Linked DNA regions of Homo sapiens: all the other regions are linked to region 2. Evidence: promoter capture Hi-C in human tissues and cell types (Jung and others, 2019). All regions are on one chromosome and are shown on one strand. Each heading gives the region's core, a stretch centred on a gene start or on the middle of the fragment in contact. The rest is flanking DNA. Distances are from core to core; before and after follow the strand shown.

Region 1 (2,700 bases), core at 34-2,533, 39 kb before region 2:
GTAGAGATGAGGTTTCACCAGGTTGGCCAGTCTGGTCTGGAACTCCTGGCCTCACATGATCCGCCTGCCTCGGCCTCCCAAAGTGATGAGATTACAGGCGTGAGCCACCGCGCCCGGCCTAGTCACTTTTTTCTTAATTGCAACCCCGATTCTCAGCACCCTTTTCATCTTGGTTTTCCTCAATAGCCCTTACCACCAGCAGACACACATCATCTGTTGTACTTGCTTATTTGGCACATATGTATCCACAGCGCCTAGAACACTGCCTGTAACGTGGAAGGTGTTCGATCTATAGAGTTTTGTCGAATGAATGAATGAAGCCGACTAGTGCACAGGGAGTGCAGCGGCGCGATGGTAGCTCTCTGCAGCCTCCAACACCTGGGCTCCAGTGATCCCCGGGCTCTGCCCACCCTCCCCACTGCCACTTCCGGGCAGAGGCCAGCAAAGCGGCGGCGCAAGAGGTAGGGAGAGAGGAGCTGAGGCCCCAGATCAGCGGCCGCGGGCAAGGTCGCTCAGCGGGCACCCGGCCTGGGTATCGGGGCGCGGGTCGGGGGCGGGGCCGGGGCTCAGGGGTGGGGCCGGGCCGGGCCGGGCCGGGCGCCTGCGCCATAAAGGCCGCCGCGCGCCCACGCGCCTCGCTTGCTGCGCGCTGCCGGCGCTCCTTCCTCCTCGGCTCGCGTCTCACTCAGTGTACCTTCTAGTCCCGCCATGGCCGCTCTCACCCGGGACCCCCAGTTCCAGAAGCTGCAGCAATGGTACCGCGAGCACCGCTCCGAGCTGAACCTGCGCCGCCTCTTCGATGCCAACAAGGACCGCTTCAACCACTTCAGGTGCGGGCGGGCCGGAGGCGGGGGCTGCCACGCGCGGCGCCCGGAACCGGGCACGCGGGCCTGGGGTCTGGAGGCGGGGGCAGCGGTGCCCGGGGACCCCAGTCCCCGACCTCCAGGCCACGGACTGGGGCCCAGGCCGAGTCCGCACTTCGTCCTTGGAGTCTCCTTGGAGTGCGTTCCTGGGGGCTTGCAGCCTCGCCGGGAGTCTCGGCCCCGGGTCTGCTTCGTTACGAGGAAAAACGGGCCCCTCCGTGGGGACATTTCCCCTCCTCCTCCCCGTGCAGCTCTGGCCATTTGAGCAGGGGCTCCTTTCGCAGTTGTGAAGAGAGGCCTTGGCTGACGCAGCAAGCGGGAAAGGGCTGTCCCTTTCCATCCGCTCCTGGCCACATGAGCTTGGGAGCGTCTGCAGGGCGGGCAGCCCGGGCGGGGGTGTTTGAGGGAGCTGGGTGGAAGGATGGAGACGTCGGGCGTGATTCCTGCAGAAGACACCTGTGCACGACCGGGAAGTGGGAAGGAGTGTTTGAGCAAATCATGGGCGGGAGTGCGGCCAAGGGAGCTCTGATCACTGATACTGGTGGAGGCGGGGGAGGGGAGCGACTGTGGCTCCGGGCTAGACGTCCCGATGGCCATCCCTGTCATCTGGATGGGTGCCTGAGTAACTTACGGCAGAAAGTGGAAGCCCTGGGAAGGGGTGGTCCCCCACTTCAGTCCGGGCTCCTCATCCAGGGTCTGCCTGCATCTACGGTCTGTGAGGATGGCTTCTTTCTCTGGGCTGCTGTTGCAGATCATCCTGGTGGGCCAGCAGGTGACAGACACCACCACTGTGCTGGGTGGCCGCGGCCCTTGTGGGGCGTGGGTCAGGGAGGATGTTTCTTCTGGGAACAGCTCCTGCTTAGGGCATGGCTCCCCGCTAGGGAGACCAGGGTGTGGTCAGCAGCATCTCCATCTTTCTGCAGCTTGACCCTCAACACCAACCATGGGCATATCCTGGTGGATTACTCCAAGAACCTGGTGACGGAGGACGTGATGCGGATGCTGGTGGACTTGGTAATGTTCTGCTTGGGGAGGCATAACTGGTAACCGACAGAGTGGTGGGTGAGCTGGGCTCCTGGGAGTCCCCAGGACCTTGAGTATCTTGAGTTCTTCCTCTCATTAGACCTCAGTCACCTCCTCTGTGCTGGTGAGGCACCTGTCCCTGGCTTAGGTTCTAAGCAGCATCCCAGGGACCCCAGTGTCTGATGTCTGAGTAGACCCTTCCCAGACAGCAGGGGAGGGAACCAGACAGCAGCCGTCTGTCTGTCTCATTGGGGACAGCACCAAGCCTTGTGTTTGGGGGCTGACACTTGGGGTGGCCAGTGTGGGTGGGACCAGGCCTCAGTATCGTCTCTTCCTAGGCCAAGTCCAGGGGCGTGGAGGCCGCCCGGGAGCGGATGTTCAATGGTGAGAAGATCAACTACACCGAGGTGAGCAGGCCCCACATACCCTCTGGGGCCTCCTTCCTTCCCTTTGGGGTTTATCTGACTGTTAGCCGCATCACCCTGTGTCTTCACCCCTTCTCTTGGGCAATGCTTTTGCTTAATGAGGGGCCTGAAGGCCTTTTTCCTCCTGCTTGTAGCAGGGCTTTGGGGTGTGCCTTCCACAAGATTGGTTTGGTGAGCTCCTTGGAATGGTTCCCAGTGTCTGCCTGGGAGGAGCATATCTCATACCCACAGGGAGAGTTTCTCAAGGCTGACATTTTCTTGGAGAAGTTAACTCTAATATATCCTCAATGCAAGTTTTAGTAGCGACAAGAAGAATCTTAGATCACCAAAGACTTCAGCCTACTCAAGCAGTAGGAGTCAATAGGAAGCAGTGGTGAGGCCAGGCCTGG
Region 2 (2,700 bases), core at 120-2,619:
AAGTTCTGCGTTTACCAGAATGGCGCCTTTTGTGTCTGGCTTCTTCCCATGATGCTTTTGAAATTCACCCATGTTGTGCTGCAGGAATTGAAAAAACTGTATTGTGTGGCTGGGCGCGGTGGCTCACACCTGTAATACTAACACTTTGGGAGGCCGAGGTGGGCAGATCACTTGATTTCAGGAGCTCGAAACCAGCCTGGCCAACATGGTGAAACCCCGTCTCTACTAAAAATACAAAAAAGGCCGGGCATGGTGGCTCACGCCTGTAATCCCAGCACTTTGGGAGGCCAAGGTGGGCGGATCACCTGAGGTTGGGAGTTCGAGACCAGCCTGACCAACATGGAGAAACCCCATCTCTATTAAAAATACAAAATTAGCCAGGCATGGTGGCACATGCCTGTAATCTCAGCTACTCGGGAGGCTAAGGCAGAAGAATCGCTTGAACCTGGGAGGCAGAGGTTGCAGTGAGCTGGGATCACGCCAGTGCACTCCAGCCTGGGCGACAAGAGCGAAACTCCGTCTAAAAAAAAAAAAAAAAAAAAAGCCGGGCGCCGGGCGTGGTGGTGGGCGTCTGTAACCCCAGCTACTGGGTGGGGCTGAGGCAGGAGAATCACTTGAACCTGGGAGGCTGAGATGCAGTGAGATGGCGCCACTGCACTTCAGCCTGGGCGACCCAGCAAGACTCTGTCTCAAAAACAAAACAAAACAAAACAAAAATAAAAACTGAAAAATCTCAAACATATAAAACCCAAATAGAATAAATCTCCATGTGCCTGGCACCAAATTTCAACAATTATCAACTCATGGTCAATCTTACTGTATTTACACCCCACCACCTTAATTATGTAGTAGCAAATCGGAGGTATTTCATCTATAAGCATTTTGGTGTGTTTCTCTAAAAATTAAAAACTTTAACTTTTTAAAAAACTTTATTGTTCTTGTTAATGACTGATAATACCATTATCCCACCTAAAATTTTTATTTTCCGGGAAGGCTTTTTTCTGGTGGCTCACACCTGTAATCGCAACACTTTGGGAGGCGGAGGCGGGAGGATCGCTTGAACCCCAGGAGTTCAAGACCAGTGTGGGCAATATAGCAAGTCCTCGTCTCAGGAAAAAAAGGAAAAAAGAAAGTTAGCTTTTTGGCAAAACTACTTCCTAGTAGATGGTGTGTACTTCCTATCACAGCGCATTAAGGGGCACATAATGCCTGGGACTCCGGGATTTCGAGCCCCTGACGCCAGCGGCGCCTCTGTGGCTCTGGGACCTGAGCGCACGCGCCTTAAAGCCACGCCTCCGCATCGGATCCTAGTAAGGGAGCGGGGTTATCATTTTAGCGTAGCGTTGCGCGTGCGCAGAGAGGCCGCCGTAGTTTGCGTTTTCACCTGGTCGCCCGGCGGCCATGGCGGCCGTTCTGAAGCCGGTGCTGCTGGGCCTTCGAGATGCGCCGGTGCACGGCAGCCCCACAGGGCCGGGTGCCTGGACTGCTAGCAAGCTGGGCGGCATTCCGGTGAGGGCGGGTGCCGGAGCTGGGGTCGATGGGTGCTGCTGAAGGGTGCGGAGGGAGTGGGCGAGGTCCTGGGGGGAGTCGGGGTCTGAGCGCCTCCTCTGTCCCCTCAGGATGCTCTGCCCACCGTGGCTGCGCCCAGGCCCGTGTGTCAGCGCTGCGGGCAGCCGCTCGCTCTGGTCGTGCAGGTGTATTGCCCGCTGGAAGGCTCCCCGTTTCACCGTCTGCTGCACGTGTTCGCGTGCGCCTGCCCCGGCTGTAGCACCGGCGGTGCGCGCAGGTAGGCGGGGAAGTCCCAGAGCTGCTCCAGGGGTGTCCTTTCCAGCGGGCTGGGGCGGGCCGGCGGGCTGGAGTCGGGGTGCAGCCCTCACGGCCCTTTGTCTTCACCCCGAAGCTGGAAGGTGTTCCGCTCCCAGTGCCTGCAGGTGCCAGAGAGAGAGGCGCAGGACGCTCAGGTAAAGGTTGTGATTGGCATGTTATTGTTTTTCTGTCATTTGAGGATATTTTCCAGAGAATAGTTTGGGGCAGACTTTAAAGCCGTGTTCTTTGAAGTACACTGGAGTGTTTTTTGCTTTTCTGAAGAACCATAAAATGCTATTTTCGTAAAGTTTTTTTTTTTTTTTTTTTTTGAGACGGAGTTTCGCTCTGTCGCCCAGGCTGGAGTGCAATGGCGCGATCTCGGCTCACCGCAACCTCCGCCTCCCAGGTTCAAGCGATTCTCCTGCCTCAGCCTCCCTAGTAGCTGGGATTACAGGCATATGCCACCACGCCCGGCTAATTTTGTATTTTTAATAGAGACGGGGTTTCGCCATGGTGGTCAGGCTGGTCTCGAACTGCCGACCTCAGGTGATCCACCCGCCTCGGCCTCCCAAAGTGCTGGGATTACAGGCATGAGCCACCGCGCCCGGCCTTTCTTAAGGTTTTGTGAGAGTTTTTTTTTTCTTCTATTTTACTTTATTTTTATTTTCTAACTCCTTTGTTAAAAGGAGATGGAGGCCCAGCATGGTGGCTCACGCCTGTGATCCCACCGTTTTTTGAGAGGCTGAAGTGGGAGGATTGCTTGAGCTCAGAAGTTGGAGACCAGGCTGGGCGCGGTGGCTTACGCCTGTAATCCCAGCACTTTGGGAGGCCGAGGCGGGCGGATCTCCTGAGGTCAGAAGTTCGAGACCAGCCTGGCCAACATGGCGAAACCCC
Region 3 (2,700 bases), core at 77-2,576, 54 kb after region 2:
TGGACTATTAATAGTAATATATCTGGCCGGGCACGATGGCTCACACGTGTAATCCCAGCTCTTTGGGAGGCCGAGGCAGGCAGATCACCTGAGATTGGAAGTTCGAGACTAGCCTGACTAACGTGGAGAAACCTGGTCTCTACTAAAAAAAAAAAAAATATATATATATATATATATATATATATATATATAAAATTAGCTGGGCATGGTGGTGCATGTTTGTAATCCCAGCTACTCAGGAGGCTGAGGCAGGAGAATCACTTGAACCTGGGAGGCGGAAGTTGCATTAAGCCGAGATCGCGCCATTGCACTCCAGCCTGGCAACAAGAGCGAAACTCTGCCTCAAGAAAAAATATAGTAATATATCTGGATTTCATTTTTTTACATTTGCAAATGAATTCCAGCCTGGATTAATGTTAGCCCAGGTATTAATAGTGGTAGCAATTGCTTTTATTATTGTCAGTTTCCCTTAGCACACTTACCTTCCCGGTGAAGCCCAAAATCAAACAAATCTTTCTCCCTCTGTAGCCTGCTTGGCCTGGGCAGTTTGCTTCTAGCCCTTCCACCTACCAGTATTCATTGTACGGAGAAGCTATTTTACAGAGGACGGCTTTAGTGTCTCTTGAGGGATTTAGTTCTGTATTCTCAGGGGAATCCGTAGAGTACTCCTTTAGAATTCATTCCTCTTAGCAGACTCAACACTACATTGTAGTCACAAGATAAAGGTTTGTGTCTCAGCTTCTTGTCTTCTGACATTTGTTGTTTCTGTTGGATCTTGCTAGTGTTTTCTAAACTTTAGTAGAAGCAGGAGCTTGGAGCTTTTCTTAATTTCAGTGTAATTTGTATATTTGCCTTGGTTCTTAATTATTTTTTTGTTTAGTATTAGAGAAATGGTAAATAGGTACATATACTGCCAGAAATACATTTTTTTCCCTCATTATATAAATGTTATTCTAATCAGAAAATTTGGGAAGGCAGTGATGTTGATTCTAGACAACTGTGAAAGGCACTATCGTTAACTGGAGAAATTAATGTGTTGGTCTTGTCAGGAGATTGCTTGCTTGATAAGAATAGCCTCAGGGAGGGACACCAGCTGCTGATACAATGATGGCACCACAGATTAACATGCCTGTGCCCTTACTCTTGCCAAATCAGGTTGCAGAAGAACGCGGAGTCTTATATAATACAAGGAGATGTCTTTTCAGCAAGCCTAGCTAGCCTAGCCTTTAGCTGATTAGAAAAGAAGGTTGAGGCCGGGCGCGGTGGCTCACGCCTGTAATCCCAGCACTTTGGGAGGCCGAGGCGGGCGGATCACGAGGTCAGGAGATCGAGACCATCCTGGCTAACACGGTGAAACCCCGTCTCTACTAAAAAAAAAATACAAAAAATTAGCCGGGCGAGGTGGCGGGCGCCTGTAGTCCCAGCTACTCGGGAGGCTGAGGCAGGAGAATGGCGTGAACCCCAGGGGGCGGAGCCTGCAGTGAGCCGAGATTGCGCCACTGCACTCCAGCCTGGGCGACAGCAAGACTCCGTCTCAAAAAAAAAAAAAAAAAAAAAAAAAAAAAAAAAAGAAGGTTGAAAAACCAGGTTCCTAAAAAGGTCATGATTTTCCTGATCCATTTTGCCATCTGGACGGGAATTTTTAAGTCATTTTTTATTGGATATCTGGTAAACGAGATTTTAGATTGTATGGCGTATAAAATTACAGCACGTTTCCGATTTCTGCCTGTTATTTCTCCTCCAAAGATTTTTTTGAATAAACAACCAAACCCAAGAAAGAAGCTTCTTGTGCCTTGTGCACTGGATCCTCCCAACCCCAATTGTTATGTATGTGCCAGCAAGCCAGAGGTGACTGTGCGGCTGAATGTCCATAAAGTGACTGTTCTCACCTTACAAGACAAGGTCAGTGCAAGGCCTGGGTCTCTTTTCCTTTTGCTTTTACAGTATTACTGTGATGACAAACAAACACTAGCTGCTGATTCTGAAAAGGTCCAACTGCAGAGATGTGTGGCTGTGATTTCCTGGGTTATTTTGCCTTCTGGATTCCTGCAGGCTTTTCTGTCTGTGGTTCCAGAATAAGTGCCTCACATTCCCAGAATGGAGTAGGAGTATTTGACTGGAATCTGCAGCACAGTGGTGGCACAGTATCACAGCAAGCAGAGGACTTCTTTGCTCTTTGCTTCCCAGGCAGTGGGTAAATTCTGTATTTTTTGACAAATAACAGGTATCCTTGAATGGTCCTCACTGTGGCAGTGAGCAGATAAGTATTTGCATGCAGTGCAAAGTTTGCATTTCCAGTAGAGCAAAGCCCCAGTTACCAGCTTTGTATTAAAGGGTATAAGTAACTTGCAGAGTTTTGGTTTCTCTGCGTGTTGGACAGTGCCCACTCCCAGCAAATTAGGGGGCTTTTGTTATTTCTGAGGTCTGAGTTGAGGCTAAGTGGTGGTACACACTTATCTAATATGACCTGATTCTGATATGGTAAGTTAGTCCCTGAGGACATAGGGCATTTGCACACCTGGATTCACCTCTGGAGCTGAAGCGAGGGAAGAAATGGGGGTTTAGGACATGGTCTGGTCCTTAAGTTCCTGTTAAATTGGCTAGATTTGTGTATTAGGGGAGATTTTCTTTTTTTATGACCCAAAAGTGTCACTTTCCACTTTGGGATCACTTCCTATTGTTCTCTGGTTGTGACCATCA

The links. The method cuts DNA at HindIII sites, captures the fragments that hold promoters and counts their contacts. A contact is called where the count stands out against the background at its distance.
Region 1: a contact is called between a fragment that was not itself captured here and the fragment with the promoter of PDCD2L in region 2, in 1 of the 25 tissues and cell types used here (aorta).
Region 3: a contact is called between a fragment that was not itself captured here and the fragment with the promoter of PDCD2L in region 2, in 1 of the 25 tissues and cell types used here (small bowel).

Annotation. Positions count from the first base shown.
Region 1 is chr19:34,364,559-34,367,258 of GRCh38, forward strand. GPI (glucose-6-phosphate isomerase) reads left to right here and starts at 638. Exons shown (of 18, transcript NM_000175.5): 1 at 638-830; 2 at 1,787-1,877; 3 at 2,225-2,293. The coding sequence starts at 709. RefSeq lists an enhancer at 1,712-2,452. The HindIII fragment of the contact is 6,168 bases long and covers 1-2,700 here.
Region 2 is chr19:34,403,030-34,405,729 of GRCh38, forward strand. It overlaps PDCD2L (programmed cell death 2 like), which reads left to right and starts at 1,370. Exons shown (of 7, transcript NM_032346.2): 1 at 1,370-1,509; 2 at 1,620-1,786; 3 at 1,901-1,961. The coding sequence starts at 1,402. The HindIII fragment of the contact is 14,760 bases long and covers 1-2,700 here.
Region 3 is chr19:34,457,023-34,459,722 of GRCh38, forward strand. UBA2 (ubiquitin like modifier activating enzyme 2) reads left to right here. Exons shown (of 17, transcript NM_005499.3): 13 at 1,747-1,902. Among named protein-coding and RNA genes, the nearest start is that of WTIP, 23 kb to the right of the region's middle. The HindIII fragment of the contact is 3,181 bases long and covers 1-2,700 here.